Linked DNA regions of Homo sapiens: regions 2 and 3 are each linked to region 1. Evidence: promoter capture Hi-C in human tissues and cell types (Jung and others, 2019). All regions are on one chromosome and are shown on one strand. Each heading gives the region's core, a stretch centred on a gene start or on the middle of the fragment in contact. The rest is flanking DNA. Distances are from core to core; before and after follow the strand shown.

The links. The method cuts DNA at HindIII sites, captures the fragments that hold promoters and counts their contacts. A contact is called where the count stands out against the background at its distance.
Region 2: a fragment that was not itself captured here is called in contact with the fragment with the promoter of ALPI in region 1 in 1 of the 25 tissues and cell types used here (spleen).
Region 3: a contact is called between a fragment that was not itself captured here and the fragment with the promoter of ALPI in region 1, in 3 of the 25 tissues and cell types used here (IMR-90 fibroblasts, dorsolateral prefrontal cortex and liver).

What each region holds. Positions count from the first base shown.
Region 1 is chr2:232,454,454-232,458,462 of GRCh38, forward strand. ALPI (alkaline phosphatase, intestinal) reads left to right here and starts at 1,700. Exons shown (of 11, transcript NM_001631.5): 1 at 1,700-1,813; 2 at 1,896-2,012; 3 at 2,127-2,242; 4 at 2,446-2,620; 5 at 2,697-2,869; 6 at 3,112-3,246; 7 at 3,342-3,414; 8 at 3,545-3,679; 9 at 3,764-3,955. The coding sequence starts at 1,747. The HindIII fragment of the contact is 7,401 bases long and covers 1-4,009 here.
Region 2 is chr2:231,804,076-231,808,084 of GRCh38, forward strand. COPS7B (COP9 signalosome subunit 7B) reads left to right here. Exons shown (of 7, transcript NM_022730.4): 7 at 3,412-4,009. The coding sequence ends at 3,570. Among named protein-coding and RNA genes, the nearest start is that of COPS7B, 20 kb to the left of the region's middle. The HindIII fragment of the contact is 7,523 bases long and covers 1-4,009 here.
Region 3 is chr2:231,881,982-231,885,990 of GRCh38, forward strand. No RefSeq gene overlaps it. Among named protein-coding and RNA genes, the nearest start is that of MIR1471, 8.3 kb to the right of the region's middle. The HindIII fragment of the contact is 8,038 bases long and covers 1-4,009 here.

The DNA of each region.
Region 1 (4,009 bases), core at 450-2,949:
TGAGCCACCGCACCCAGCTTGTATTATTTCTTACAACTACTTGTGAATCTATAGTTCTGTCAAAAATTCCAACTTAAACATGAAACTCAGGGTGGCTATAAAGCCTCCTGACTCACCTTGACTTTGGAATCAATCAATCAATTAATTGAGGAGACCCATTAGTGAGTCTCCTCTGACTTTCAGCCAAGAATGTTCCTAACTCAGCAAGATGAAGCAGGAGGTAGAGGAAACTAAGGGGGCAACAAGCAGGGGGCAAGAAGGACCTATGAGAGCGACATCTTCCCTGAGAGCCCCAGGACGACCACCGGGAAGCCAGGAGGGCGCAGGCAGGAGGACCCGGGAAAGCTCGGCCTGAGGGAGGCCCTAGGCGTGGTGGGGAGTGGGGCAGGGCAGGCAGAGGCTGGGCAGCAGGTGAGGTCCCCTGGGTTCTGAGGGCCAAGCCTGGGGTTTGAGGTAAACAGGCTCGAGTGGAGAAGGGGCTGCTGTGGTTGGGCTGGGGTGGGTGGAGCTGGAGGAGCCTTTTCTTCTTGAACCAGTTTTTGAATTGTGCTACAAAACACGGTACATCAAGTTTACCTCCTTCACCATTTTCAAGTGTACAGGGCGGCAGTGTTGAGTACACGCACAGTGTTGTGCAGCTGATCTCCAGAACATTCTCATCCTGCAACCTTGAAGCTCTGTCCCTATTAAACTCCAACTCTAACCCTAACCCCAACCCTAACCCATTGCCTCCTCCCTCAGCCTCAGGCAACCTCCATTCCACTTCTGTCTCTATGTATTTGACTCCCCTCGGGACCTCAGAGAAGTGTGTTCGTGCGTATTTGTTCTTTTGCACTGGTATATTTCACTGAGCATAATGTCCTAAGGTTCATCCATGTTGTAGCAGGTGTCAGGGTCGCCTTTGTTTTCAAGGCTGCGTGATACTCCATTGTATGTGTGCACCCTGTTTGGTTTCTCCATTTCTCTTTTGCTGGACACTTGGGTAGCTTCCAGCTCTTGGCTGCTGTGGATAATGCTGCTGGGAACATGGGTGTGCAGTTATCTGTTCGAGTCCCTAGTTCGCATTCCTTTGGCTACACACTCAGAGTGGGATGTCTGGACTGAAGCAATACTTTTGAACTCAGCCTGAGGTTACCAAACTCTCTGAACTCCTTATCAGAGGCTACACTTCTGGGTGTTCCCCGGGGCCCATGGAAAACAGACTCACCCCAGGCTCCATCTACCTGTGCAAGGGAACAGGGGTCAACCTCAAGTGCACAGGCTGCTCTGGAAGACCCAGCCCAGGTCTGGCTGACCCAGAGCACTGGCCCCTTCCCAGCCTGCGTCCTCAGGACATAGGTGTGGGCACCCATATACACCAAGTGGGTTCTAGGGCAGCCAGGCCACCCAGTGTGCCTCCTTTCACACTCCTCTGGGGCTCGTGACATTACGAGCCCTAACCCGGGCCCTGGCCTAGGCTGTGTGTTTCCAGTCTCACCTCTCTTCACACCTTGAATGAGGTGAATGAAGGAGTGGCAACGCGTCTCCCACAAGACACTGTGAGCCACACCCAGTCCCTTCCCTTCAGCAAGCTTGGCTTCAGGTCACAGGACTGGGCGGGGTCAAGATGGACACCAGGGGTGTGGGGAGGGACGTGGAGCATTTACAGCCAGGGGCAAAGTCCTCCCCTGATTTAAACCCAGGCAGCCTGCGCTGCAGCCGGTTCCTGGTGTCCCCACTTCGCCTCCCTCCTGCTGCCCCCAAGACATGCAGGGGCCCTGGGTGCTGCTGCTGCTGGGCCTGAGGCTACAGCTCTCCCTGGGCGTCATCCCAGGTAATGAGGCTCCCCAAGCTGTTCCACACACAGGGCACCCCCTCAGCCAGGCTGACCTGATCTCTACTCTCCCCCTGGCCAGCTGAGGAGGAGAACCCGGCCTTCTGGAACCGCCAGGCAGCTGAGGCCCTGGATGCTGCCAAGAAGCTGCAGCCCATCCAGAAGGTCGCCAAGAACCTCATCCTCTTCCTGGGCGATGGTGAGTGAGCAAGGCCTGTCCAGCCCCGTAGTCCTCACAGCCCCGGCACCCGGGACCTTCAGTGGTTCCAGGACAACCCTGGGGCCCAGGACTCACACATTTCTGCTCCTTCAGGGTTGGGGGTGCCCACGGTGACAGCCACCAGGATCCTAAAGGGGCAGAAGAATGGCAAACTGGGGCCTGAGACGCCCCTGGCCATGGACCGCTTCCCATACCTGGCTCTGTCCAAGGTAAGGGCTGGGCCACCTCAGAGTCCTCCAAGCAGAGGAGAGGGATCAAGGATATGGAGTGTGGCAGGAGGGAGGGAGCCAGGACAGCTGGGGCCTAAGTTAGGAGCTGGGAGCAGTTAGGATCCCAGAGGACCAGAACCAGGTCCTTGGTTGGGGTCTGGGTGTCCGCCCCGAAGTAGAGCTCAGGGTGTCTCCGTTCGCAGACATACAATGTGGACAGACAGGTGCCAGACAGCGCAGCCACAGCCACGGCCTACCTGTGCGGGGTCAAGGCCAACTTCCAGACCATCGGCTTGAGTGCAGCCGCCCGCTTTAACCAGTGCAACACGACACGCGGCAATGAGGTCATCTCCGTGATGAACCGGGCCAAGCAAGCAGGTGAGCTGGGGCCCGCTGTGGGGTCAGGACCAGGCCCAAGATCTCGGTCACCGATCCTGACCTCTGTCACCCTCAGGAAAGTCAGTAGGAGTGGTGACCACCACACGGGTGCAGCACGCCTCGCCAGCCGGCACCTACGCACACACAGTGAACCGCAACTGGTACTCAGATGCTGACATGCCTGCCTCAGCCCGCCAGGAGGGGTGCCAGGACATCGCCACTCAGCTCATCTCCAACATGGACATTGACGTGCGACCCCCGGGCCAAGGGCTGGGGCTGGGCAGAGGGGAAGGTGGCACAGGCTCAGATCCAGGCAACCAAAAGCCTGATCTGGGTCAGCAGGTTCTGGAGGTGGAGTTGGGGATGTAGAATGTGCAATACAGGCTGGGCCATTCCCACAGCCCTGGGGAGGGGAGCCAGGGGCTATGCATGAGGAGGGGGCACGGGGCCAGCCAGGCCCCCAAACCACCTGCCCCATCCATTGTCCTCAGGTGATCCTTGGCGGAGGCCGCAAGTACATGTTTCCCATGGGGACCCCAGACCCTGAGTACCCAGCTGATGCCAGCCAGAATGGAATCAGGCTGGACGGGAAGAACCTGGTGCAGGAATGGCTGGCAAAGCACCAGGTGATGGGGGCTGGTGGGTGTGGGAGGCACGGCAGGGGGAGGCCAAGTGTGTGGGTCTCAGGGCTGTGGGCTGAAGCCTGGCTCTGTCCCTGCAGGGTGCCTGGTATGTGTGGAACCGCACTGAGCTCATGCAGGCGTCCCTGGACCAGTCTGTGACCCATCTCATGGGTAATGACCCCCTTCCTGCCCTGGCATTCCTCAGACAACCTCAGAGGGTGCCATCCGAGCCTGTGTGCCCATTTGCCAGCACCCTCCCGCTCACAGCCTGCCAATCACCACCAAGCTCCTTGTCCCACAGGCCTCTTTGAGCCCGGAGACACGAAATATGAGATCCACCGAGACCCCACACTGGACCCCTCCCTGATGGAGATGACAGAGGCTGCCCTGCGCCTGCTGAGCAGGAACCCCCGCGGCTTCTACCTCTTTGTGGAGGGTGCGTGGTGGCCCCTGGGGAGTGGAGGAAGGCGGGGCGCGGCAGGGCAGGTTCAAGCATCACCCCCCTCTGGCCTTCCTGCAGGCGGCCGCATCGACCATGGTCATCATGAGGGTGTGGCTTACCAGGCACTCACTGAGGCGGTCATGTTCGACGACGCCATTGAGAGGGCGGGCCAGCTCACCAGCGAGGAGGACACGCTGACCCTCGTCACCGCTGACCACTCCCATGTCTTCTCCTTTGGTGGCTACACCTTGCGAGGGAGCTCCATCTTCGGTAGGCCTGGGGAGAGTGGCAGGTGCTGCTGCATCAATTATGAGGGTGAAGTTT
Region 2 (4,009 bases), core at 686-3,185, 650 kb before region 1:
GATAGGCTGATAATGACTTTATGCTACAAAAACATAGGTGAAGCGGATTGAAAATATAACCATTATTTGGGGATTGATTAATGCCTTTTCCTTACTCATGCAGGGGTTATGAGACTGTCAGTAAATCTAAGACATGTTAAATAATGTAGAAAACTATTTGTAGTATAAGCTGATTTTTTTTTTTTTTTTTGAGACAGAGTCTGGCTCTGTAGCCCAGGCAGGAGTGCAGTGGCGCGATCTTGGCTCACTGCAAGCTCTGCCTCCCGGGTTCACGCCATTCTCCTGCCTCAGCGTCCCGAGTAGCTGGGACTACAGGTGCCCGCCACGTCACCCGGCTAACTTTTTATATTTTTAGTAGAGATGGGGTTTCACCGCGTTAGCCAGGATGGTCTCGATCTCCTGACCTCGTGATCTGCCTGCCTCAGCCTCCCAAAGTGCTGGGATTACAGGCGTGAGCCACTGTGCCTGGCCTAAGCTGATTGTTTAGTAAAAATTATTACACAAATAACTTGAGGAAATAAGGCTAAATAGTGCTTATCAGACAAGATGAAATTAGGAATTTTTTTTGGTTTTGTTTTTTTAATTTTTAATAAAGCTATTTTGCCAAATGGGAAAGGTAATTATTTGCTTGGAAAGATACCCCATTTTGGAAATACAGTCCTTGAAACAAAAACTTGTTTGTTTTCTAATGTCTTATTTGATTAAAATTTTGTCAGCTTTTGGGGAGACTTTAAAACACATTCCCTCAGGTAATGTTAAATTGCAGGATCTTCTTTGGAAGTTAGAGGTAACTGACATGCAAATAAATAAACTAAAGTCATGTCGTTACCTCTTATTATGATTTTAGTTCATTTTCTTCTGGATATTTAGAAAATATATCAAATTGGAGAAGCCTTAGAATGTTATTTTATAAAGCAGTGTTCCCTGAGAAGTCAAATTTCTTAATTTTTCCTCCAATGTCATCAAAATATGCCTTAGCTGGGCATGATAGTATGTGTCTGTAGTCCCAGCTACTTAGGAGGCTGAGGCAGGCAAATTGGTTCATGCCAGAAGTTTGAGACCAGCCTGGGCAACATAGCAAGATCCCATTTCTATTTTTTAAAAAAAGTCTTAAAACAAATAATATTTCTTTTATCAGAGAAAGAGTGATAAGCCATTGGCTTGCTCCAGATCATTCACTCACCACCTTGCCAGGTGACTCACTGAATGAGGTACACCAAAGTGGCAGTGAGCCGCTGGGAGGGCGAGATGCCTCAGGGTTCTGGGGTTCCCAGATTGTGTTTTGTTGTCTGGCAGGACACTGGATAAACCCAGAGTTGAATTCCCCTCCCTGTTTATTATATATATATATATATATTTTTTTTTAAATTTTATATATATATATATATATATATTTATATATTTCCAGGCACTGGGTCTTGCTGTGTCACCCAGGCTGGAATCAGTGGTGTAATCATAGTTCACTGCAGCCTCAAACTCCTGGACTTAAGTGATCCTCCTGCCTCAGCCTCCTGAATAGCTAGGACTATAGGCATGTGCCACCACACCAGGCACATGTTTTTTTCTTTTATGTCTTTTTGTTGAGATAAGGTCTTACTTGAATGTCATCTAGGCTGGAGTGCAGTGGTGCAGACATGGCTCACTGTAGCCTCTACCTCTTGGGCTTAAGCGATCCTCCTGCCTCAGCCACTTGAGTAGCTGGGACTACAGGTGCATGCCACCATACCTGGCTAAAATTTTTTTTTTTTTTTTTAAGAAAGACAGGGTCCCACTATGTTGCCCAGGCTGGTCTTGAACACCTGCTCTTGAGCAATTCTCTTTGCTCAGCCTCCCAAAGTGCTAGAAGTATAGGTGTGAGCCACCATGCCCAGCCTGCCCTCTGTAATGACTGTTCCAGCCCACAGTCCTCTGTCATTCTCTCTTCAGAAAGGCTACAGCGTTGATTGAGGTTACAGAAGTTTAGGGCATGGCTTTTCCCCCTGTCTCAAAATAGTGACAACAAAAAACAATTTATGATCTAGTTAAGGTGGATTCTGCAGATGATGGCTCTCCTCCAGGAACCCAATTTTTGTCTCACCCTCATAGCATTGTTTTGTCTTTGCATTTGGACTGTCTCTTACCCTCAAGCTCATAATATTCTGACTGTTGAGAACTTTTGACCCTGACAACTCCTTTTCACTATGTAGAAAACTGGCTGGGTGTGGTGGCTCATGCCTGTAATCCCAGCACTTTGGGAGGCCAAGGTAGGAGGGTCAGTTGACCCTGGGAGTTTGAAAACAGCCTGGACAACGTGGTGAAACCTTGTCTCTACAAATAAGTTTTTAAAAATTAGCCAGGCATGGTGGCAAGCGCCTGTGGTCCAAGCTGCTCAGGAGGCTGAGGTGGGAGGATCACTTAAGCCTGGGCAGTTGAGGCTGCAGTGAGCTGTGATTGTGCCACTATACTCCATCCTGTACAACAGAGTAAGACTCTGTCTCCAAAAAAAAAAAAAAAAAAGACTAAAAAAGCTATTACTTATTTGACTGCACTGTTCTTCCCTACCACCACCATCCTCTTCCTGCTGTTTCTTCCTCTCAACGAACTGAGGAGCAAAGGTTTGGAATAGTCACTTTTCAGCAGGCAATATAGCAGTACTGATTCAAATGTAAAATGTAAATCGACTTTGATCTGGAAAGCTCACTTCTAGGAGTATCTTCCATAGATGTTCACAGAAGTATGCAAAGGTAAACATAAAGGGCTGTTCAGAGTAGCACTGAAACCCAAACTAGGAACCAATTCAAAAAACTGGAAAACTGGAGAACCTTCCTAATAGAATAGGGTTCAAGTGTCACAGAGGATATCTGTTCTGACGTGGTAAAATGTTCAAGAGCTGCTTAAGTATTTACGAGTCTGTATTTTGTTAAGTGAAAGAAAGCTATACTGCACACGGTAGTGTCATAGCATTTTGCCAGTACTTCTATTACATTTTCTTCATTTCTCACTTAGTTGGCTGAAGTTCATCCTCTACTGGTTTATTCAAGAAGGTTCATGGAGCTGTATTCCCAAAGTTTTTATGAAAATATTTGTGGTTTTATAAATGAATAACAGCAGAGTGTAGAATTCTTGGGTCCCTCTTTCTGAGGACATTTTAATCACGATTTATTTCACTGTTGGTGATGTGCCTCTTTGCCAAATGTTCCCCTTCCATTTGTTTCAACCAGGAGAGCATTAGTCCCACATTTTTGCTTGACTCATTTCCACAAATCTGCTGTGAGTAGCCCAGGCTCGTTTCTGCTCATCTGGATTTCTGAAGAGAATTTCAGGTTTTCTTGCAGAGGATTTTAGCTTCCTGTCTGAAGTGAAGACATAGTGAGAGCAAGTTTTGGTGAGCACATACAGGCTGAGCACTCCAATTCTATATCTCCCCACCAGGTTACCAACATCAAGAAGACACTCAAAGCCACCGCATCCTCCTCGGCTCAGGAGATGGAGCAGCAGCTGGCTGAACGGGAGTGTCCCCCTCACGCTGAGCAGAGGCAGCCCACCAAGAAGATGTCCAAAGTGAAAGGTCTGGTCTCCAGCCGCCACTAGGGCCGGCTGGGGCAGCTGGCACTCACCAGGCCTGGGTCAGGTGGGGAGGGGACACCAAGGGCCCATTTCCTCCCCTCTCTACCTGCAGTGAGTTCCAGACCTGCCCGTCCCCTCACCAGCGCCTCCCCACCCTGTTGGTACTGTTCCAGAAAAACTGTTACTCCCCCTCACCCACTCCCTCCTTCCCCAGTTGTTCCCTTCAGACTCAGGGGCTCCACCAATGCCATCCCAAAACAGGGTCAGACACTGCCCAGCTTCCCTCCAGGAGGTTCTTGTCTCTGTGTAAGGGCTTGTCTCCCTCCCAGTTTTTCTTTTGCTCCACGTCATTTTGTCAGGCTGGTTATAAGCCGGAGGCAGCTTTAACCAGCCCCCAGGGATGATTGTGAAGGAGGCCCCTCCCCTTGTGAGGAGGGGGCACTCCTCTCCAGCCCCTGGTACC
Region 3 (4,009 bases), core at 550-3,049, 570 kb before region 1:
TGCAGTGGTGCAATCTCAGCTCACTGCAACCTCAACTTCCTGGGTTCAAGTGATTCTCCTGCCTCGGCCTCCCGAGTAGCTGGGACTACAGGCATGTGCCGCCACACCTGGCTAATTTTTGTATTTTTAGTGGAGACGGGGTTTCACCATGTTGGCCAGGCTGGTCTTGAACTCCTGACCTCAGGTGATCCGCCTGCCTCAGCCTCTTAAAGTGCTGGCATTACAGGTATGAGCCACCATGCCCGGCCTGAATTTCAAATTCTTAGAGAGAGGAATTACCTGACTTGGCTCAGGGCAGGGGTTTCACGAATCAGGTGGGACTGCATGGAGCCACGTGGAGCCACACCTTATGGGATATTCTGAAGGAGACAGTGATGTGTCTAGGGTGCAGCTGCTCCCACCTGGTCCTCCCACTTCTTCCCATGGATCCAGTTCTAAAGGTGCCCTCACCTGCATGATCCCACCACCCCCATCCCATCACAAAGGGGCTTCTGCCATCTCCTAAGAGTGGTTCCCCTGCCTTCCCACTCTGCTAGATTAGCACAGCCTCTGTTCCCGTACTCTGCTTTAGTTTTCCTCACAGCATCCTTGATGTGAAATTTCATATTTGCTAATCTTTTATCGGCCTCCCCAACCAGAACCTAAGATCCCCCTGGGCAGGGACTTTGTCCTCTTCACTGCCCCAGCCCTAGCTCCTACAATCGTGCCTGAGGCTCAGTGAGTATTTGGTGAATGACTGAAATAGACTCACATCCTCCCCAGTGGGAGGCCGCCAAAGTCTCCAGGACCACTTCGAAAACAGGGACCACAGGGCTGGGGTGGTGGCCAGTCAGTCCTCTGCCCCCGTCTGTCTCCCCAAACCCCAGTCCTCCTCTTCCAGCTCTGGCCGCCTCCCCAGGGGGAAAGGTGGGGAAAATTGTCTCATCGTCTCTTTATTTCTCCAGATGAGCTTCAGAATTATTTGGGCTCGTTTCCCAAAAAGTTCCATTAAAATTTTGGTGGACATCACATTAAATGTATACATCCATTTAAAAAGAAAAGACATTGTTACAACATGGAGGCTTCTCACCATGAGCACACTTCTCTTGTCTTCCTTTAAAACCCTCAGTAAAATTCTGTAGTTTTCAGAGTTTCTGCATATTTATTGTTAAGCTTATTTCTAGGGTGTTTGATTTTTACAGTTGCTATTGTGTGTGTGTGGGGGGGGTGGTCTTTCCCCTCCTCTTTTATTTTCTAATTGTTGGTATAGAGGAAAGGAAGTGATTTGTGAATGTTTCTTTTTTATCCATTCACTTTATCTAATTTCACTCTTAATAAAATTCTAGGAATTTTTCATTTGGTTATCGGGGCTATAAGACTGCATTATCGACAAATGATAATTTTACCTCTTTCCTTTTTCTTCCTCTAGTTGTATGTCTTTTTCAGCTGTTTCTTATTGCATTCAGCAAAGCGGATCTTTTCTTAAATAAACCTTTCATTAGGGAAGACATTCAGGACTCCGCAGAATATTTAAGGAACAAAACCATGAAAGTGACACATCTCGACTCCTGGGATGCTGCCAATGCAGTACTTAGAGGAGATTTATGGCTCCCAGTGCTTATATTAGAGAGGGAGAAACGAGAAACAATAAATCAAGCTGATACCTAATGAACTTTGTTCCCTTTAAGCTATGAACCAAGAAAATGGAGAAAAAGGAAGTAATAAATCTAAACAAAATGTAGGAAGAAGAGAGAATTGATAAACTTAATCAGTAGCACATGGGAGGAAATGGCTCTTCTGCAGAGCGGGCCAGAGTGGGACGGCATGGAGAAGTGGGAACAGGTCCTTCCAGGCAGCCTGGCTCTTCCTTCTCATCATGTACTGGGAGGTGGGTGGGTTTGAGGCAGGAGGCTCTGCTGACCCCATGGCCACCCACTGGCCATGGACTTCTGATGGGAGTTTTTGCTGGAACCAGTACTCTGGAAATACTTGGCTGGGGTAGAGAACGCTCAAAATCAGGAATGCATCCCCAGCAGATGCGGCCTCCAGGGAGAAAGAGGTGCTAAGCCGGGGTGAGCAGTGAGTGTGCCCCATAGGCGTCTCACACCATACTTTGTAAATCCATCTGGTCTCATGCTTCTTAGAGGGTCCTTGTTTCCCTCTATCTTGTCTTCAGTCAAATTTCTTTTCAGAATTCCACCCTGATGGAGAAAAAGGCAAGCTGTCGGTTTTGTTTGCCCTCAGGCCAGAGCACTTGGGGATGAGGGCGGGTGTAAGAGGGCACAGGTGGCTAGTGTGGGAAGACTGGTTATGCTGGGCCCACAGCTTCTTTTTGGGGTGGTTGTTTGGAGGATTTAAAGCTATGTTTATTTATTTATTCATTCATCTGAGATGGTCTTGAAATAGCACAATGCTGTGTTTTTTTTTTTTAAGGGAAAACTCCCTTAGAATTGGTCTTTAAAAAATTCATAAGTCATTAGCCAAATTCTAAAAAGGAGCAAATGCAAATTAATACACTCTGAAAAAGGAAAGAACTAATACAAAATATGTTCTACAAGCAAAACGAGGGTATCAGCTTCTCAGCAGTCTGCTTGTATGTTTTTGTAACCAAATGGAAATTGTTTTCTTCCCAGGGGCTCATCATCTACTCCTCTCAACTCAGTGTAATCTGCAACAATTGCTTTTAATAGAGAAGATAAAGCTCCCAGCTGCGTTTTTAAACAAACAGAAGGACAGAAGGACATCTTGGCATAGATCTGGTTTCTGGTCATAATCGCTGGATGGCCTCTTCATTTTACAAGGGAAGGGGAATCAGCTCCCATTTTCCAGGTGGGAGTTGGTGTCAAACCGGCTTAGCAGGTGCTGGCTCCCTGGTGAGCTGAGTTCTGGCACAAGCAAACTAGTCTCCTGGAAGGGAAGAATGAAGACCCCATTTGTCTCTTCCAGGTCAAGATCTTAAGTCAGGAGATTTGTGGGAGGGCTCTGGCCACGGTCTTGTGAAAGGGTTGCACCACTCCTGGCACAATGTGAGCTGAGGCTGGGAGTTGCAGGGCTCACCCACCCTGCTGGTATGGAGGTTTGGGGAGACTCTCAAGTCTGCGAAGGTGACCTAAGGAAACTGAGGTCTGGGAACCCAAACGAGGGCTACCATTGAAGTATGAACAGTAGGGGCATCACCGCAATGGTCCACAGGTGTCCTGCAGACTGCGGGACGAGTTTTCAGCAGTGATACTGGGGGGCAGCAGCAGAGGCAAAGATGGCAGCAGAATCTACTTGCCTGGTGTGGGGAGGACTCAAGATGGATGGAGGTACTGACTTTCCTGGTAACAGGAGCTTGTAGACATGTGACTGGACATTCAGAGATGTGATTCCTTTGTATGCCAAGAAGGTGAAGCAGTTTACTGTTCTTCTCCATGCACTTAGCAATATATGTTAATTTCCAGCATTTGGCAAAATCAAGTTAGTCTGGGCAGCTTTAAGAAAAGAAACAGGGCCAGGCGCAGTGGCTCACACCTGTAATCCCAGCACTTTGGGAGGCCAAGGTGGGTGGAACACCTGAGGTCAGGAGTTCGAGACCAGCCTGGCCAATATGGTGAAACCCCATGTCTACTAAAAATACAAAAATTAGCTGGCTGTGGTGGTGGGTGCCTGTAATTCTAGCTACTTGGGAGGCTGAGGCAGGAGAATCACTTGAACTCGGGAGGTGGAAGTTGCAGTGAGCCAAGATTGCACCACTGCACTCCAGCCTGGGTGACAAGGTAAGACTCTGTCTCAAAAGAAGAAAAGGAACAGATATTTACCACAACACAAATACATCTAAGTTTTGAAGGTTTAGAACAGAATTACTTTTTTTTTTTTTTTTTTTTTTTTTTGGAGACAGGTTCTCTCTCTGTCGCCCAGGGCTGGAGTGCAGTGGCGCCATCTCGGCTCACTGCAACCTCCACCTCCCAGGCTCAAGCAATCCTCCCATCTCAGCCTACTGAGTAGCTGGAACCACAGACACATGCCACCATACCCAGCTAACTTTTGT